7 separate regions of the Homo sapiens genome follow, and all the other regions are linked to region 5. Evidence: promoter capture Hi-C in 16 types of primary human blood cells and fetal thymus (Javierre and others, 2016). All regions are on one chromosome and are shown on one strand. Each heading gives the region's core, a stretch centred on a gene start or on the middle of the fragment in contact. The rest is flanking DNA. Distances are from core to core; before and after follow the strand shown.

Region 1 (2,747 bases), core at 244-2,743, 1.2 Mb after region 5:
TTTCCTGTTTTTTAAAAAAACATATTCTAGAAAGCTTTGTTTTATTTTAATCAAATTTTGTTCTCTCTACTGCATGGAGCAGTGAATGGATTTTAAGACAAAACTGCTCTCTGGATTACAAACTTTAACATCTATTTGCTTTTCAAACAACACTAAATCAAAGAAAAGGTAGTAACTTTTATAAAATGAGTATCTATCAACTTCAAAAACAATGAGTCATTTTTTTAGAAGAAAAATTTATTTATTTTTTTAAGAGACAGTGTTTTGCTGTTTCCCAGGCTGGAGTGCAATGGCTATCACAGGCACAGCCCACCACTGATCAGCATGGGAATTTTGATCTGCTCCATTTCCAACCTGAGTTGGTTCACCCCTCCTTAGGCAACTTGGTGGTCTCTGACTTTCAGGAGGTCACCAAATCGGTGCTGACCTTAGTGCAGACACCTGATGGGTATAGTGCCTACAGCCCAGAAGTCCTGGGCTCAACTAATCCTCCTGCGGTAGCCTCCTGAGCAGCTGCAACTCAGACATGTTCCCCTGAGCCCCACCATTTTTAATTGAGTTTGGCCAAGACTACTTGTTTACCTAAACATAAGTGGGCAATTTACTACTTACTGTTAATTCATTGATACAAAGAGCAGAAACTGGAGCTCGATGCCCTCGAAGCTGGGTTAGAAATGACAGTTTGTTCAAATCCCAAATGATACAGGTTCGATCACGGGACCCACTGACAATTATGTGATAGGCTAATGATGCTGTGGCGCAGGTGACGGTATCAGTGTGGCCCAGTAAGGCCTACGAATGAGAACAAACAAACAAAATCAGGTTGATCTCAGTGACAGGGTTCCACAGTGACTCCAGAAGCTCCTGGATGCATCAGGAAGCAGTGGCACGCATGCTAGGTAGTAGGTGACTTGAGCAGTGGTGTCTGGAGAGTCTGGAAGGCAGACCTCCTTTCTCCTCCTGCTGACTACCCTTGCCTCAGCCCACGGGGGTAGAGAGAAGCCTGGAGCACTCTGGAGGCTCTTTACTTTCACATTAGTTCTTTCCTGGAGTTGGGCCAGGATCTTAGAAGGAAGAGGGAATGACAACCACAACCCAGCTTGGGTTTCTTTATACCATTTTTATGTAGAGATGTATTGATTATGGGCATCAAAAATACAGAATTTCAACTCTATATCCATTCTTTTATGCCACAAACTCCTGTTCAGACCATTCTAAAGAATTACAATTGAATGAATTTTTTTTTAAAAAAATGCATAAACTGCGAGAACCACATGGCTGTAGCACGTGGTCTACAATAGACAAAGCGAGAATGTAGTCCTGAGGCGTCAACATGCTGAAGTCCTGCTGCCAATCGGAGATATCTGAGTATCTGTGCCTGAGAGGAATTCTTTCTTTAAACTAGAAAAAGAACTTCCCTCTTTTGCTGGAATATGAAGAGAAAAAGGACCCAAGGAAATGGCAATGTGTGAAAATAAGTAAATATTCTGAAGAAAAAGATTTAGATTACTGTTAGTAGTTCCTAAGTACTTAGAATGGGCCATCTGCCCTGGCAGAAAAATATATCCGCTTAATAATGAGTTGGCTTCATCTGCCGCCTTCCACACTAGAATGTAAGAGGTTGCCTCCTATTGTACATTTGGGGAAAGCCTTGGGTGTAAATCAGTGTAAACTTGGAGGAGAGATTTTGCTATCATGTAGAGTAGGTATTTTTTACAGATTGAAGGTTGATAAATTTTTTAATACTTTTGAGAGAGAAAACTATCTGTGTATACACATGAAGTATATATATGTGTGTGTGTGCATAATATAAAAAAAGAGTTGGCTTAAAATTTTGGTCATATAGACATCTTTATTGCATGCTTAGCAAACCCCAGGAAACTATTTTAAGCAGGAAGTCCTTTTTCCTGGCACATTACTTTCAAAGTGCATTTTCTAAATGGAAAATATTTTTAAGCATAATTTGAATCAGCAAAATGTACTATTAACCTTGTAATCTGTTCACTTCAAGACTTTCTCCCTCTTTATATGGCTTGCCTCAGGACCCAGCAACTCTGTGAAGTTTCTGGCCTATACAGATGATTCAGTTTTATACTGAACAGGGGTTCAATTTTTTTCTATAGGTATTTATGACACCACTGTTTGAGTTTGGCTTTATAATAGCTTTGAAGTCAGACAGAACTTAATTTAAATTATAGCTTTACTGCTACATGTGACTTTAGACTTGTGTCTTGACCACTCTAACCTGTGTCTTTTTCAGGGGTAAAATGGGGCTAATAACTACCTTGTAGAATTGTGTCGACTAGAGTTTTGTATTTGTAGAATACTCAACACAGTCCCCTGAAATAGAGGTGCTCAATAATTGATAAGTGGTATTGTTACATTATTTTTCAAATTTATATCATTAAAAATACTTAGATATATGCTCCTTATTTAAAAAATACCTTATGGTAAGTTCTCTCACAGATCAAATATTAAGAAATGGCTTAATTATAAAAGGACTCTTGCTTTAAGTAAAAATTAATAATAGAATCATGTATGTAATAGACAATCAGAAATACTCGTTAATTAAATCATCAAGGGCTCTACTGAATATATTCATGAGTTTGGCATATCCTTAAGTATATGACAAATGAGAAAAGAGAGAAACAAAAAATAAAGAATTTAGTGGCAGATAAATGGAAATCACCCTGGAAGGAAATTAATATGAGTCAATAGCAAACATAATTCAGTTTGCAAAAATTCAA
Region 2 (2,857 bases), core at 230-2,729, 1.0 Mb after region 5:
GCGGCAGAGGCGGAGGAGGCAGAGGCGGACGAGGAAGAGGAGGAGGAGGAACCGGAGGGCGAGGCGGAGGGCAGGGCGGCCCCCGAGGCCACGGGCATGGAGGGCCGGCTCAGGATATCGTTGATGCCGTGTGGGGTGGCGGCCGAGAGCTGCTGCGGGGGGCTGCCGAGGGATGAGAGCCCCCCCGTGGCCGGGGGCTTCAGGCCGCCTGGGTTGTGGGTGCCCAGAGGCGGGGAGGGCGACGAGGAGGACGACGACGAGGACGAGGAGGAGGGGGGGCCGGCAGGCAGCGGGGGATACGCGGCAGGGTACAGCGGGGTCTTCATCTCGGCCATGCTGTGCAGGGCGGCCAGGGGAGGGCTGCTGAGCAGGAATGCGCTCTGCCGGGTGCCCTCCATTGCCCCCACCGCTAACATCCCACGGCCACGCCGGAGACCGTAGCCTTGCAGCGAGGGCGCTGGCTGGTGCCCCCCGCGGGGCTCAGAGGAGCCGGAAGCGCCGAGGGCGCGAGCGGAGAGGCACTCGGCGCGCCCGGAGGCGAGCTGCCAACTGAACCAAAAATGCCGCTGCCGGGAGTTGCTCGCCTAGCTGCGCAGCAGAGATGTCCAAACCCTCCACGCGGGAGGCGGCAGCTCGCCGAGAAAAGCAGGCGTCCCGGCGGGCTAGGCAGTCCTTTCGTTCCGCGAGTCCTAGATTCGATCCCTGGCTATTCTCTCTTCCTCACTTTTCCTAGCTGTTCAAAGTGCGCTACTTCTCATCTTCTGCCCCCGGGAAATAAGCAAAACAAAACCCAGGCTGGCTCCGGAGAGTTTGTAGCAAAGTTAGTTGCCGAATCTCCACTTTGAAGTTGGAGGGTGGGGGTGGCTTGCTTTCTTTGGGGAGGTTCAAAGGACGCCTTGTGCAGCCCGTGGCGCTCCTCTGATCTTACTGGGATGCTCTGCTCTTTCGGTCGCGCGGCTGATTCGCATTCGACGCTCACTGTGCCCGGGGAGAAAGCGCATCCAGCCCGCGGGAGATCTAGCCTCTGTGCGGGCTTCCTCCGCCCACGCTGCCCCGGGCTGCTGCGCCAGAAAGGGCAGTGCCACGGATCCCCGCGGCTCCCAGGTCCTCACCTCCACCCGCCTTGCCCTCTGGCCCACGGGGCACTGGAGTTGCAATATTGAAAAGAAAAAGGGGGAGGAAAAACACAGAAAAACAAAAGACTAAGTGTGAAAAGTCTGACGGCTGGGTTTCGGCGCCGCTCGTCAGTCCACTTCTGCAAACGGGCCCGGCGACCCCCGCCCCACCCCCGCTCCCTCTCTCCCTCTCACTCTCAGCCTTTGACTCTCCTCTCTGGCATTTTCTTCGCGGCTTCCCAGGCTTCGGTCTTCTAAGTCCTGTCCTCTGGCCAAACTGACCCTCTCCGCGGCTCCTCCGCTCTTTCTCTCCTTTCCTCTCTCCCTCCGGGCCTGACAGTTCAGATGAAGCTCTCAAAGGTAATAAAACATTTGCATCACTCCCTACCCCTCTTTAGCTGGGGGACGAAAGGGAGGGGGAAGTGGGGGACCAAAATGAGAACTTTGAGGGACGTCACTCCGAGGCTGCGGGGGCCGGCGAGCCGGGCGCAGGCCGGGGGCGTAACCACCGTGTCCAATAGCTCGCCGCCTCGATCCTTGCGTCGCCCCTGGGGCTCGCCCACTCGGGGGCGCCGCACCCTCTGATTGGCTGAGGCGGGCCAGGCGTAGGGCCGCGCCCGCCTAGTCCCCTCCCGCTCCCTACTTCTTTCTCCTGTGGGCGGGGCCAGGAGGGGCGGGAGCTGGTGAGTGGTGCGGTTCCGCGCTGGGGCCAGTGGCCGCCTCAATTAATTGTGCTAAATAAAATGAGAAAGGGGAGGGGGAAGCAGAGACGAAGAGGGTATTACTTTTTAAAGAGAGGAATAATGAAAACTCAGCCCTTTTATGGAAAAGCAGTTCATATTCTTCCCTTGCTTCCCCACTAGCCCGCTCGCGTCATCCTATCCCCTTCCCCCACCAGCTCTGGAGGGCGCCTCACCTCGAACCAAGTCTGGTCCCTTGTAAAATGGAGCTAATGGAGCAGGCAGCCGGCGCAGCCCTGGCCTGGCTCCTTCTTTTGAAGGGATTAATTAAAGGCCATCTGGGCTCTCCCAGAATTGTGTAAATTAATTTGTTGCTCCTTAAGCCTTATAGATGTCCTTAATCCCCTTGTAGGCCAAAGGATCGTCCTCTTCCATCTTTCCACCTCCTGCTTTCCTTTTCTGTTCTTTCTCCTCCACTTTATTTTTTTTTTCATTCCCGAGTTCCCCCCCGCCCGTCGCTTCCCACCGCGTTCATTATCATTTATGGGTTACTCAATTCGCTGAAAACTGAATCCGTTTAATAGGAATATTTATCTGTCAGATGATGTTTATACCTGAGAACAGTGAGGGAGTTTTTTCCCTTAACTTTTCTCCCTTTGATTATTGTTGTTATTTCCTTTGGGTTTACATGGGGGTAGAATCATCAAAATTCAGGCGGAAACTTTAGATACAGAAGCATCTAGGTACACCCTGGGAACTGTAAGCTTTTGAAAACCCTCTCCAAAACTCTGGCGCCTACTCCCAATTCTAGAGTTGCTACGGGAGATGGAGATGTACCAGCTCCTGGACAGTGGTGGTGGGATGTCTATCTAGAGTTTAGGAGTTGAAGGGTGGCTTCCTTTACTCTCTAAATCTCTTCCATCTCTGGCTGATCTTTACGTTCCCGACAGGGTTGAACTGCGGGCTGGAGAAGGAAAACCCTTTGACAATTTTGAGAATTCAGCATGTTAAAGTAACACACCATTGGAAGGTGGTCGCTACAGCAAATTTGGATGAGATCAT
Region 3 (2,700 bases), core at 73-2,572, 1.1 Mb after region 5:
TGCCCAAGGTCAAGTTCGTGGCTCTTGAAACTAGAATCTAAGTTTCCTGATTCCTTTTCTTCTGGTTTATGTGGTTGCTGAGACTGGCTGGCAGTTCTGATTTGGGGAGGATTCCACCTGAAAGTTGATGTTGATGAGTTTGATGTAACCCAAATTACAAAGCCCTAATAGGAACATATCACATGATATCACGAAATAAACGTAAACGTGATTCTTAGTACTAAAACTTTAGAATCAATGGAATCAATGTAGTGACACTTTTCCCCTTACCCTTGATAGTAAGTAGAATAAAATGAGTCTGTAATAAAACATAAGTGTCAAGGAATTACCCAAAATATAACAATTTCCAGCTACTGAAGGTTGAAGTTACAAAACTAGGAACAGTGGGCTGAGAATAGTCTTTGTGAAAACTGCCTTGGAAACTAGACCCAAAATAGAATTAATTAGGTTGGGATTTGTTTTGTTTTGTTTTTAGCACTGGTATAGTTTAGCATCAAGGAAATACCAGCTTCTCTATGCTGACTTCCTTAACTCGACAAAGCTAACAAGCTTTTGTTAAGAGAAAAGATGTTCAGGAAGCCATGCATAAAATACCTTCGGAATTAAGTTTTTTCTTTTTTTAACACCATAATGTATTTAAAATGGAAACTACTTCTGTAGTGTGATTTGACTCATTAGAACTGTTGTCTCTAGCTATCTGTGACTAGGTTACCTCGCTGCATATTTATTTATTTATCAATGCAGTACTGTTGGTTTTTATTGACACATGTCCAGCTGGATTTTGTTTTCTGAAAGTAGACTTTGCTATATGTAACCTGTTTTGTCAAGATTTCTTAGACAAGGATGAACATATTCAAACCATATCTAAAATACTGCTCTACTTTTAGAGTTTATCATGAGGAACTTTTGACTTGGCAAGCTGATAGATATTGAACTCTATCCCTGTCTGTCCTTTCTTATCAGGGTGTGTATTTGAATACACCTGTATTTCCAGGTCAAGGGCTATTTTAAAATCAGTTTGCACACTGGAGGCTGGTTAATATTTGGTCAATTCAAACTCATTAAGGGCCTTCCCTGTTCAGTTGCAGTAAAGGCAAAACTCTTGGGGAATTAGTGAAAGAAGTGAAGGAGGTACATTATATTCTGCTATTATAATACACTCCCATGCATTGCCATTTTGTAGTCTTTTAATAATGGTGTTATTAACATGACACTCCCTTTGTTCCGGACTGGTGACTTATGCTGAGAGAAGGCTCTGTACTCCAGATAATTAGCAAGTGAAAAAAATACTTCTTACCTGCAGAGGAATGTTCCCAAGTGTTAAATGTTGGAGTGGTACTTGAAAAATGACAAGGGACATCTTCAAGGAACCCTGCAGGAGACATATATGAGTTAGATTTATTGGAAGTCTGTACAAGGCTCATTGTTAGCATAGAGGGCATGCTTGGCGTCTACCTGGAGACTGTAGGAAAAGCTCTAAACAGTGGATGAGGATTGAGCTGGGAATGAAAAGATTCCTGGGACTCACCAGGTTTACAAGGGTTTGGGTAGGGTGTTCTAGGCAAAGGACGTGTTGGGTTTTTTCTTGAATCAGCATTCTAGGCACAGGGTTGCAGATACAGAGGAAGAGATAATGAAGGTCCTGAGAGCAAAAGGAGGAGGCATTGCTTAGAGCAGTGGTCCCCAAATTTTTTGGCACCAGGGATCAGTTTTGTGGAAGACACTTTTTTCCACGGATGGGTTGGGGGGATGGTTTCAGGATGATTCAGGTACATTACATTTATTGTGCACTTTATTTCTATTATTATTACATTGTAATATATAATGAAATAATTATACAACTCACCATAATATAAAATCCATGGGAGCCCTGAGCTTGTTATCCTGCAACTATACAGTCCCACCTGGGGGTGATGGGAGACAGTGACAGATCATCAGGCCTTAGATTCTCATAAGGAACATGCAGCCTAGATCCCTCGCATGTGCAGTTCACAACAGGGTTCAAGCTCCTGTGAGGATCTAATGCTGCTGTTGATCTGACAGGAGGCAGCGCTCGGTGGTAATGCGAGTGATGGGGTGTGGCTGTAAATACAGAGGAAGCTTCACTCGCAGACCACTCACCTGCTCTGCAGCCGGGTTCCCAACAGGCCCAGTTCCTAACAGGCCGGTACTGGTCTGTGGCCTGGGGGTTGGGGACCCCTGGCTTAGAGGACATCATCAGTAGTACTTAGGAATAAGGGCTGAGATAGAACGTGGAGTTTAGCAAAAGATCTAAGTAGAAGCAAGTTTAGGTTGAGGAAATTGAGAGGTGAAATGTTGGTAGTTATTGTTATAAAGTGGCAGTGAAAGGAATACAGGATGGCAACTAGAGAGACAGGAGGATTAATGAAGATTTTTCTTTTCAGAGGAGGGGAGATATATATTTGTATGAAAGTCAAATGAGTAAAGATGTTGAAGACAATGGGTAGGCCCTAGGAAAAAGAAAGCAAACATGGGGTAGAGACTATGGATTATTGGGATATCCAAGGAAAGAAAAGAGGGATGCATGTCTTTTCCTTAAGAAAAGAAAGACGGAATGAAGAGTGGATACAGGAACATTTTGAAAAGCAGAAAGGAGAAGATCAAATGTTGGATGCCTTCAGTTAGTAAAGTAGGAACTCAGAACCAATGAGCTTCAAGGGATCTTAGAAACAACTTGGT
Region 4 (2,700 bases), core at 17-2,516, 1.1 Mb before region 5:
TGGAAAATCCAGAGACAAGCTGTATCCTTAGAAGAATAAATAGTTAAAATTATTCAGTAAGCTGACGTATTTAACCATTACTGGGCCTGTAAAAAATGCATTAAAATTACATTACAAATAGTTTTTAAAAAGCAAAGAAATAAGTGAAGGCAAAGCTTGAAGTATCCATTTTATTTTATAATGCTGATACAGGATGTTGGAAGAGACCATACCAAACGGCAGCATTCGAGAGCGTGAGCATCTCGTACCCTGTCCGCATTGAGCGGGCCTGTGAGAATCGTGAAGTCAGCGCGACACAGGGCCTGCAATGAAGTTCCCGCTGGCGGGTACAAACAAGGTATAATGTCAGAGTTAGTAGGCAATACTTTTTTGCTGCAATTCCTTAATTTGTACCCATTAGCAGTACTTTACCTGTTAACTTTACTGACTTGTTAATAATAGGACAAAAAGGCAAAAGCTTAAGAGCACCTGTGTTACATATCTTTGAAAGTCACTATGTTATAATATGGTAAGCACTTCTGGGTGCTGTGAAACTCTTAAATTAAGCATTGTTTTATGAACAATATAGATTATAAAAACTACTATTGTAAATGACAAAAAAAAACTATTTTTAGAACATACCTGTTGGGGATAAGTTGCAAATGGAATAATTTAGTATGGTTTGTAGCTATTTTGATGACCACCTCGCCTGGATACCTTCCCATAACCACTCTGCTGGTCTAAAATAAAACAAGTGTTAGAACCAGAACGGTAGTGGTTACATACTAATAATCAGAACAGTACCTAATTTTAAACAATCTCAAAAAATTAAGGGTAGCTTAATTCCCAAGTGTGAAAAATTCACCCTGAGCAATCATTTATCAAATAATTTACCAAATATGTAGTGAATGCATACAATGGCAGGCATTCAGAATGAGCTGATTACTTGACTTATTGTATAAAATGGGAGACAATCCCCTCACCCTTACAGTTTAAAAGTTTTAAGTTTCAAAGGATGGACAGCTGACCCTTTCACAACCACCAGCAAAAAATATCTTAAAATTTAGAACAAATTGTCAACCACAATCAGTGCTTAGTATCTCTGCCCTTCTAAGAAAAGGGCCCCAATCTCACCCAATCCATCTTTGCTGACCTTCTTCTGACTTTAATTAACCTATTATTGTGCAGCAGGCCTAGTCACCTAAGAAAGGATATAACTCCAAGAACTGGTCTAACCAAGGAAGGAAAAGAAAAACCACTTAAAACAATGCAACCAATGCAACCACTCTCCTCCAAAAAAATGTAAGATTGCTTCTAGTAGAACCCTTTACCTGACGACTCAACAGTTGCTACAAATCAGGTGGAGAGCAACTACCTTAGTTGCACAATGAAGTCAGGGCTTTCCATGTCTAAAAGTCAAGTTTTTTGGTTCTATCAAGCTCAACATCTGTTTTAAGAGTTTCTACATTAATAATCCTAAAGCGAGGATACTATTAGTTTTAACTGGCAACATGTGGTATTATTCAGTTTTATAGGATTAAGACACATCATGCCAAGATTATTGGTTGGTCCAAGAAGTGACATTTAGAATACCTTGAGCTTAAAAGATCTGAACTGAGCTTAAAATTTTTAAATCCAAGTAAAACAAATGCCCAGCAAACATATATAGAACCACACATACACCCTACCCTTATAATGTGTGTGTGATATAGGCTGGGAGGAACCAAGCAATAAAATGGCTGCAGTTTCAAGTTTCCAGGAATTTGAAACCTGAAGACATTTGCACTTGGCAAGGCTACACTAACCTTTCTGCCTATCCAAATTTGTACAAAATAAATGTCAAATAGCAGTTAATATAAAAAGTATAGTACTTACTGCTATAATCACCATATCCATAGTAGTTGTTGTAACCAGTGTAGTCATATCCTCCATAACCACCGTAACCTTGGCTGTTATATCCATAGTTGCCATAGCCTTGATTCCAATAGTTACTATATCCCTGGTTCCAGTTTTGACTGGGGCCTGCAGCACATTAATAGGTTCACTAAAGTCAGAAGATCAGCAAAGATCTTTACTTCAGGATAATTAAAAAGCAGAAAAGCTTAAGATAGAGTAAACTTAGGCTCTAGCTTACCACCACCTCTTCCACGAGCTCTTCCTGCAAATCCTCCTCTAGATCCCCACTGTTGCTGTTGCTGATATTGTTCCTTCGACATGGCTACTTTTATTTCACACTAAAAGAGAAAAATTACATTATTAAACTGACTCAAGAAAATAAAAGTTGCTAAATAAGTTTCTAATAACCAGAATAGCCAACATGTTTAAATAGAGTAGGCTAATTTGAAACTTTCCTCAGTCAGTTTATTAATTAAACCAATATTTAGTACTTAAGAGTAATCACTTATGAGTACTTGCTAGTGATGTTACTTCATTTTACTTGTCAAGTTCTAAAAACTATTTTTGTGAAAGCCTAGACAAAAACACTAACAAATGTGTCCATCCTGCTCCCCACAAAAAGTTGGTCAATGGTAAGTAACCAATGAGAAGTTTTTAAAGCATGCAAAGAACTTAAGCCTTTACAGAGAAAGATAAATGGTTAAGCTCTTTACAACAGCTAGTTTTCTCTACAAGTAAATGGATGCTTAACTTACTTTACTAAGACCAACATTGTGGTATTTCTTTTCCATTATCTTCTTCACTGGTTCTTCTTCCTTAAAGGTA
Region 5 (2,700 bases), core at 78-2,577:
ACATCCTGGGCTCAAGCGATCCTCCTGCCTCAGCCTCCCAAGTAGCTAGGACTACAGGTGCAGGCCACCACACCCGGCTAATTAAGAAAAAAAAATTTTTTTTTTTTTTTGTAGAGACTGGGTCTCTGTTGCCTAGGCTGGTTTTGAACGCGAACTTCTGGGCTTAAGTGATCCTCCCATCTCTGCCTCCTAAAGCACTGGGATTATAGGCATGAGCCACTGCACACGGCCAGATTGTAATTCTTAAAGCTGTACTAAAACAGCAGGAAGACTGGTAGACGTCTACTGAAATGTCAGCGCATTCGAAGTTTCTGATAACTGCAGCGCTTCCCTCCCAGACTACAATCTACAGTGACTGGCCTCTAACAGAAACATGGTTGTACCACTAGACACTCCAAGGAGTTCCTAGGAATTTGGAATTGAGACTGAGAAACTGAATACTGACTTGGAGTGGTCTGCTACACAGAAGACACACAAACCTGGAGGCAGCAATATAGTAAAGTGATTAAGACAACAGGATTTGGAGCAAGAACTGTACTATCTCAACTTTTCAGGGCCTGATTACTGTCGTAAAATCTAGATAATATAACTAGCTTAACATAACGGGTCTTCAATAAACAGCAGATTTTATTTGTACAGTAGGAGCTGCAGTTATCTGGAAGCCTAGATTTGTGTCTCAGTCATGCCACTTAACTGCTGCGTGCACAACTTTTATGTCTCGGGGTTTACATTTCATATTTATATAGAAATGTAAATAACAAGGCAATCAATACCTCCTAAGTGCCGATTAACAGTGGTAACGAAGACGAGAGAAGTAAACGAAGGCGATAAAACTGGTCAACTCTTTGCATCTGGGAAGGATGCCAAAAGTTTGCAGTTTCAAGTTCCAAGTCCTCCGTACCTGGTCTCCCACCCCTCTGTCAGTGGGCATGTGACGTAGGAGGTCCGGGTTTGTATCACCACCTCCAAGGACGAGACATTCCGGGGAATCTGAGAGTAGAAGGGGCTGTACCTCAACCGGCAGTACGCCCGCGGTTTTCCGCCTCCTGTTCTCAGCCACCATTTCCTCCTCCTCTTTCCCCTCATCTCCGGGCACGAGCTCGGCCGCGGTGGGAGCGCCAAAAATACACCCCAAGCTTGGACGGTTCCTTTTGGGGAGAGACACCCGCCGGCGGATGCGGGAACCACATTCATCCATGGCAAGGACCCAGGGCCCTATTCAGACGTCGTTCTCAGTGACCCAGACGCTAAGCCCATATGGAAGGGAGAGTGGGACGCCGGAGCCCGCTTCTACATCCACCTTGGGAAAAGACCCCAAGTTAGCTCTCAGGGCTCGCGGACCGGAAGCACGCATAAACTTCTACCCTGTCCAATCATAAGCCTCACGTGACCTGCCGCGTAGGGAGGGCACGAACAGAAAGGTGCTGCGCATGCGTATTGAAAAACCTCACCTACTCTCGCGGGTCCTCAGCGTTCTCCTGCGGAACCTTTGAACGGGGTACTCGAGCCCACAGGGGAAGAGCAGCGGAAGGGGCCTTTCGGAACGATTTGGAACGAAAGGAAGTGGAAGAAACGCGGAACCATGGCCGCTGTGGTTGCTGTTTGCGGTGGTCTAGGGAGGAAGAAGTTGACACACTTGGTAACGGCTGCTGTCAGCCTTACACATCCCGGGACTCACACGGGTAAAGTCTCCATATCCTATGCTCCATTGTAGCGCTGCAGGCATTAACCTTAGTCCTAATGGTTAGAGTCGTCCCTGTTAGCAAAACGACTCTGGTTTCTAGGCGATTAAGTTTCTCCAAGATGGGTGGGAATCTGTAATTGCCTTTGACTGTTTTAGTGTCGTCTAATCCACTCCTTTAAAGTATTTAAACGTATGAGGAAGTTGGAGTGGTTCTTAAAAAGCAGAGACTTTCCTAAGATCTCTGGATAATCTTAGTGAGGAAGGGACATTTCCAGAGTCGCCCAGCAGCAAATTCCAGATGTCTAAGGTCCCCAAACAGAACAAAATTGCATAATTTTTGCAATTTTATCTTCTCTGTGCTTCTCTATAAATTCTTTCTGGGACGGGTCTGTTACTTTCTTTTTGGTATGACAGTGCCTTTCTGTTGCTTCTCCTATAAGAATTTGCATTAAGAATTTTCTCTAACCATGGAATGAAGGGAAAATAAATGTCAGAAAGAGCAGGTATGGGCGGGAAAATATGTTCTTTTCCCCCTAAGCCCTGGAAAGCACACCCATGTTGAGTCTTACTCTGTCCCAAATATAAAAGTTTTTAACCATTCTGAATATAATACAAAACCTTTCTTTAATATCGTGTCCCTTAATTCATCCTGTCTCCATAAAAACAAAAATCTTTAGCTATTCAGCTAAGAAAAAGAAATGGTTAATTGCTGTTTCTGTTTAATCGCAGTGCTTTGGAGAAGAGGTTGTTCACAACAGGTATCCAGCAATGAGGACCTGGTAAGAATTTTTTTTTCTATTAGTAAGGCCTTTGCAAATATGACCAAAATGTTTTTCTTTTTAAAACGAGATCTGGTATTAGACTCTAACATCTTTTATTTTAGCTACTTGAATAGAGTTCTGCCGTAGGACAAAACAATTTGATAATTACTCTGAGTTCAGAAATGATGATGAATTGATTGTAGTCATGTAGTCAGCTGAGTTTTGAAGTAGGGGAATTCCTAGATTAGAAGCAAA
Region 6 (2,757 bases), core at 244-2,743, 1.5 Mb after region 5:
TTCTGCATATGATTTCTGGGAAGCCAAGGACCCTCAGAAGTATATGCATGAAATTAAGAAAGAAGCAGGGCATGGTGGCTCACATCTGTAATCCCAGCACTTAGAGAGGCTAAGGCAGGAGGATCACTTGAGGCCAGGAGTTCAAGATCAGCCTGAGCAACACAGGGAGACCCTCATCTCTACAAAAAATAGAAAAATTAGACAGGCATGGTGGCATGCACATGTAGTCCTAACTTCTTGGGAGGCTGTGGGAGAAGGATCACTCGGGCCCAGAAGTTCAAGGCTGCAGTGAACCGTGATCGTGCCACTACACCCCAGCCTGGGCAACAGGGCAAGACCCTGTCTCTAAAAAAAGAAATAAATAAATAAATTAAGAACAACTGATGTAAACTTTTAAAATTGCAAAGTTGAGCAGTGGAATTTAAGAATCTCTTCAAAGCAGAGAATCCAACTAATATTGAAATATACTGTCATTTACTTTTTCAAAAACAGATTATGCAAGAGTAGAACATTGTATTTTCTAACTTATCCCTCCTTTTTGGAGGTGATACAAATTTTTTGAAACATTTTTTTTTTTCTTTACAAAAATTGTTTTCTCTTTGTTGCCCAGGCTGGTCTCTAACTCCTGGCCTCAAGTGATCCCCCAGCCTTGGCCTCCCAAAGTGCTGGAATGACAGGCATGACCCACTGTGACCCACCAAAAGCATACATATATTTCAGATGAATCCATTTTAACTCATGGAAAGAAACTAGCAGTAGAAACCTCTTTCTAGCAGCTTGAGATAGAATGGTTCAAAGTATTAACATACTTTACTATTGCTCAAATATCATAGGAAGAGTTCTCAATTCTAATGCAATATATATTTTTAAACATAAAAACATACCAACCTAATTCCTATACTTAAGAGTCTCATGATAAAGTTTTATTTTTTTTAAAGTCGGATTTTTTTACTAGACTTATGCACTAATACAACATGTTTTTCTATAAATTAGCACATTTTTAGTTCTGTTTTATGTTATGTTTGTTACGTCGCCTGATAGTCGAAACCAGTTGTTCTCAACCTGCTACCAAATACCAACCTGGAAATATGCCACTATTTAAAAAGCCCGAAGAATAGGGTTTTGTTTTTCCTTTTTAATTGTTTGGTGTTCAAACTACATAGTAAACCAGTTGGCAACCATTACTGAACAAAAATAGTTTTTCGTATGCATGAGCACCATTTTCCAACAGAAAACACTTAACCATTTTTAAGGTACTGGAAGTCCATGCAAGGGTTCACATATGCAGTAAATATCCTTTCAATCTGGTTGTATCACATTGTTTCTGTGAAAGGAAGACCTGATATTGCAGATCTCACAATTAAATGGTAAAAATCAATGAAAAACTGCACCTGAGGCTCAAACACTAGCCAGATGGCCTTTGGTTGGAAAGGTCTCATCTGCTTCTTAAATCCCGCCGTAACTGTGAATGTTTGCGATGCCACCACATCCCCAGTACAAGAGAACTGGAGCATCTCTGGCTCCTTCCATAATCGAAGGGCTTCCAGCGTAGGGCGTAGGGGGAGAGGCCCGAAGCCCTGGAGACAGCGCCCGAGGGATGGAGGCCGCGCTCGGCTGCGCTCAGGTCCGGGTGGCTCCGGGAGCTGAGACCCCGCAGGATGCAGCGGGGGGGGGCCAGGGCCTGATCCCCTACCCCTGCGAGCCAGGGCCGCCTACGCCCCCACTGCTTCCCACAGGTAACGTCCAGCCCTCTCCTCCCCTATCCCCCGAAATATCCCGGTTCCGCTCCGCTCCGCTCGCCGCCCGTGACCCCGACCCCGACCCGTCCGCGACGGCGCCCTCCCCAGGAGGCAGCGGAGGACTAGGGCCAGGCCGCCCACCCTGGCGGCGGCGGCGGCTCCCGGCCAAGGCGGACCCTGGGGAGGACAGCAGCTGGGCCGCGGCCTGTCCCTAGGGGGAGCGGGCGCAGGGCCGCGAGTGGGCAGCGCCTCCGCCCCGCACGAACAAAGCGGCCAGGCGCGCCGGGCCGAGGCAGCACCGCCTCTCCGGGAGCGCGGGGGGCGGGGAGGATGGCGGGGGTACTCACCTGAGGGCCGGCGGAGGGCGCGGGCGGGACAGGCCCAGGAGACGGGACCGCGGCGGGCCGGGGCTCCGCGCCGAGGGCGCACGGGCTACGGGGAAGGGGCGACCGGCGCGACGTCCGCGGCGGGGCCCGGGAGCCCCGCGCCGCGGGCCGGGGGCCGGGGCCCGAGCTCGATTCTGCGGCCGCGAGGTATGGGAACCGGTCCGCCGGGCCAGGCAGCGGTGCTAGGCAGCAGGGGCAGCGACGCCGCCGCCTTTCCCTTCTCCTGCCCCCGTCCCTGCTCCGCCGCGTCCTCGTCCTCGCTGGGTCCCCGCCGCCGCCGCCTCAGCCTCGGCGCTCCTCGGGTTTCTTCTCTCCATCAAGGCCGGGCCGACCCGCAGGGACCATCCCGGAAAGTGAGGGGTTGTTGCCGTTTCCCGCAGCTGTTGGTGGCCATCTTTAATCCTCCTCCTCCTCCTGCTTTCTCCACCTCCCGCTGGCTGTCTGACTGACTGACTGGATCCTCCTCTTTCCCCTCCTGCTCCTCCTACTGAGCCGGCCGCAGAAATTGCAGCCGCTCAGCTTCTACCCCCTCCTGCCTTTCCTTCCTCTTTCCTTACTTCCTTCCCTTCCCTCGGCTTCCCGCTCTTGCCTCACTCTCAGCGGCTGCCTTCGCCCCTGTCTGCAGACAGCGC
Region 7 (2,700 bases), core at 118-2,617, 1.2 Mb before region 5:
AAGCCTGGGCAACGGAGTAAGACTCTGTCTCAAAAATAAATAAAATAAAAAGCAATGATAGTAGTATTCACCAGTCAAAGTACTGATGAGTCTAAAAGCATGTTGTGAAAGAAATTAACAACAGTGAAATGTCCCATTTCACCTTCCCAGGATCCTAGCTTCTCACCACTCTTTCTGCTGCATCCTCAAGATTGTATCAAACTATCAAGGGAAAGGTGGAAATGTCTGTGATATTTTATATTACCTGCCGTGGTTTTCATTCTCAGTTATTCTCTTTGGCACAAAAATGGAGAATGAAAAAAATGGAGGAGGAGGAAGGAGAGATGGAGGAAGAAGAGAGTAAGACAGAAAAGCTTCTCATTCTAAAAAGTTTCAAAATAGATTTTGGGAACTCTCTGAAAACAGAGTATATGGGGAAAAAAAGGTTTCAGACAATCAACGTTCATGGCATCAACTGGGAAAACGCCCAGGGTGGTCAGAGTTGCCCTACCTAGACTTGCTGGAATGTCCACATGTCAGAGAAGGACAGAATGAGAAGGAAGCACTCCAACTAGCTAGAGCCCTCTCTAGGAAGTGAGGGGTGACATAGTGTGGTGATGAGAAGACTCCTAGTAAATTGGGGATCCAAGAGCTTGCTTCCCAAATGAAGTAAGGTCTAAAAGCTGCTCCCCACATGATAGCAGTGACACAGCACAACAGGAGAGTGCGACAGGAGGGCATATTGTGACACAGCCTCTGGAGCCACCCGCAGCCTCACAATGACATGTGGGAGCAGTGGGAATTTTTCTTCGCCTCCAAGAGGACCAAAAAAGTGACTGAAAGAGAAACAGAGCACCTAAAGGGGCCTTGGGGTTCCAAGTAGAGTGTGTGACTGGTGATCAGAGACAGACAGAAAACAAACATTAGCTGCAGATTCCACCTTAGAGGGACGAAGGTCACTAATTGGAAGCTCTTTCCCTCCACCAAGTTTCCCACACTCAGAGATGCCACCCCATGGGGAAAGAAGGAAAGGGAGAAATCCTGAGTTAAGTGAGGAAACCTGGCATTGACTAGAGTAAGCCTTGGCTATCAGGCATAATACAGCATACAGAAAACATACAGGAAGGAAAGAAAGCACAAGGGACAGTATGCAATTGGAGGGGAGGATTAAAGGCTTAGAATGACTGCTGTGCTGAAAGCTCACCAGGGAGAAGGGGCTCAAAAAAGATAGATTTGTGGTGAGGTTTATTCGGTTTGTTTTTACTGTAAGCAAGACCCTGGGGTAAGCAAAAGCATTACCCCAGAGTTAACAAATTTCCTCTTCCCAGGTATAAGTAATGTGACCAGTGGTTTTAATCAGTCACCCTGCCTGTAACACAGACACACTTATCAAGCTGATAAGACACACTGATTCGAGATTTCCTGTATATAGGATACATGATTCAACAAGGCATTTTTCTCAGGAGCTATAGTGCAGACCAGTTTCGCTCCTTCCTTGTCAAATCCAATTTGATTACCCTGTGTTAAAGGAAATGGAATTGACTACCTGCCTTCACCCAGACACCCAGAAGGATACTGATTGTCATTCTTTAAGGTTACACCATTGGGTTCAGGCGCAGTGACACACCTGTAATCCCAGCACTTTAGGAGACCAAGGAGAGTGGACCACTTGAGGTCAAGAGTTCAAGACCAGTTTGGCCAACATGGTGAAACCCCGTCTCTACTAAAAATACAAAAATTAGTCAGGCGTGGTGGCACACACCTGTGGTCCCAGCTACTCAGGAGGCTGAGGTGGAAGGATCGTTTCAACCCAGAAGGTGGAGGTTGCAGTGAGCCGTGATCATGCCACTGCACTCTAGACCCTGTCTCAAAAAAAAAAAAAGATTACACCATTGGGAGCAAGAAAGTAATATGTACTTATCACAAATTACTGCAATTGCATAACTACTGTATGCTAATATTTTTGCATAATTATTTCATTTAAACTTGACAATTACCCCCATTTTATGAACTAGGAAACTGACTCTCAGAAAGATTAAGTTACATAAACTCATGGAGTACATGGGCAATGCCCATATATGAATCTAAGTTTGTCTGACTTCAAAGGCAAACTCTTTCCACTCTACCACAATACCTTGGTGATGAAAATATATAAGGTCACACTTTTAAAAAATTATTGTCAAGGCACCCAAGGTCTAAGACAACAAAAGTCATGCTACCACTCCTTCCACTCTGCCCTCCTACCTACTCTCTCATACACCTTTTCTCTGCCACACTCATCCCCCAAACCCACCTGCCTTCTTTCAAGCCTTTACAGAAGCTATTCCCTCTGCCTAGACTCTCCTATCTTTCTTTCCTCCCCACTTAGAGAACGCCAACCCATCCTCTAAGTCAAGGACTTTTAAAGCTTTGCTAGCTCTCCATCCCATCTTCTGCAGCTTTGTTCATCTTTCCCTGATAGCACACGCATACCACTTGAGACTGGCGTTTCTCCGCCTGTGCCTCTGTAACCACTACTAGAATATGAACTCCTCAACTTCAAGGTCGGGGCCGACCTACTTGCATACCCAGGAATCTAAGGCATTTAGCGCACAGCCGGAGTTCAATAAATGCCTGGATTAATGAATTAATTTTCTTTAAAATCAAGGTCTACATTTCACATGCTCTAGATTGTGAATAAATCATAAGGAGGTAAACACTATGAAGTACACTGGCGCTCGA

Evidence for each region. The method cuts DNA at HindIII sites, captures the fragments that hold promoters and counts their contacts. A CHiCAGO score of 5 or more calls a contact.
Region 1: a contact is called between a fragment that was not itself captured here and the fragment with the promoter of HELQ in region 5, in 1 of 17 cell types (M0 macrophages). The highest score is 5.7, in M0 macrophages.
Region 2: a contact is called between the fragment with the promoter of NKX6-1 here and the fragment with the promoter of HELQ in region 5, in 6 of 17 cell types (monocytes, fetal thymus, naive CD4 T cells and 3 more). The highest score is 12.8, in monocytes.
Region 3: a fragment that was not itself captured here is called in contact with the fragment with the promoter of HELQ in region 5 in 1 of 17 cell types (non-activated CD4 T cells); the score reaches 6.2 in non-activated CD4 T cells.
Region 4: a contact is called between a fragment that was not itself captured here and the fragment with the promoter of HELQ in region 5, in 1 of 17 cell types (fetal thymus). The highest score is 5.4, in fetal thymus.
Region 6: the fragment with the promoter of WDFY3-AS2 here is called in contact with the fragment with the promoter of HELQ in region 5 in 1 of 17 cell types (M2 macrophages); the score reaches 5.8 in M2 macrophages.
Region 7: a fragment that was not itself captured here is called in contact with the fragment with the promoter of HELQ in region 5 in 4 of 17 cell types (fetal thymus, activated CD4 T cells, naive CD8 T cells and 1 more); the score reaches 9.1 in fetal thymus.

Annotation. Positions count from the first base shown.
Region 1 is chr4:84,687,474-84,690,220 of GRCh38, forward strand. WDFY3 (WD repeat and FYVE domain containing 3) reads right to left here. Exons shown (of 68, transcript NM_014991.6): 62 at 613-792. It also overlaps the pseudogene RN7SL552P. Among named protein-coding and RNA genes, the nearest start is that of CDS1, 110 kb to the left of the region's middle. The HindIII fragment of the contact is 2,923 bases long and covers 33-2,747 here.
Region 2 is chr4:84,497,813-84,500,669 of GRCh38, forward strand. NKX6-1 (NK6 homeobox 1) reads right to left here and starts at 1,480. Exons shown (of 3, transcript NM_006168.3): 1 at 1-1,480. The coding sequence starts at 416. The HindIII fragment of the contact is 5,978 bases long and covers 1-2,557 here.
Region 3 is chr4:84,584,490-84,587,189 of GRCh38, forward strand. The region is part of intron 1 of CDS1 (CDP-diacylglycerol synthase 1); the gene reads left to right. Among named protein-coding and RNA genes, the nearest start is that of CDS1, 2.7 kb to the left of the region's middle. The HindIII fragment of the contact is 1,551 bases long and covers 548-2,098 here.
Region 4 is chr4:82,354,683-82,357,382 of GRCh38, forward strand. HNRNPD (heterogeneous nuclear ribonucleoprotein D) reads right to left here. Exons shown (of 9, transcript NM_031370.3): 5 at 2,631-2,700; 6 at 2,114-2,213; 7 at 1,855-2,001; 8 at 622-719. The coding sequence ends at 652. Among named protein-coding and RNA genes, the nearest start is that of HNRNPD, 18 kb to the right of the region's middle. The HindIII fragment of the contact is 1,623 bases long and covers 456-2,078 here.
Region 5 is chr4:83,454,496-83,457,195 of GRCh38, forward strand. It overlaps HELQ (helicase, POLQ like), which reads right to left and starts at 1,328. Exons shown (of 18, transcript NM_133636.5): 1 at 902-1,328. The coding sequence starts at 1,198. MRPS18C (mitochondrial ribosomal protein S18C) reads left to right here and starts at 1,563. Exons shown (of 6, transcript NM_016067.4): 1 at 1,563-1,682; 2 at 2,414-2,463. The coding sequence starts at 1,583. RefSeq lists enhancers at 576-1,406, 835-884, 1,225-1,334, 1,321-1,615. The HindIII fragment of the contact is 1,733 bases long and covers 1,135-2,700 here.
Region 6 is chr4:84,964,123-84,966,879 of GRCh38, forward strand. WDFY3-AS2 (WDFY3 antisense RNA 2) reads left to right here and starts at 1,494. Exons shown (of 4, transcript NR_152775.1): 1 at 1,494-1,736. It overlaps WDFY3 (WD repeat and FYVE domain containing 3), which reads right to left and starts at 2,568. Exons shown (of 68, transcript NM_014991.6): 1 at 2,087-2,568. The HindIII fragment of the contact is 8,814 bases long and covers 1-2,757 here.
Region 7 is chr4:82,282,115-82,284,814 of GRCh38, forward strand. The region is part of intron 1 of LOC105377308 (a long non-coding RNA gene); the gene reads right to left. Among named protein-coding and RNA genes, the nearest start is that of HNRNPD, 91 kb to the right of the region's middle. The HindIII fragment of the contact is 2,033 bases long and covers 352-2,384 here.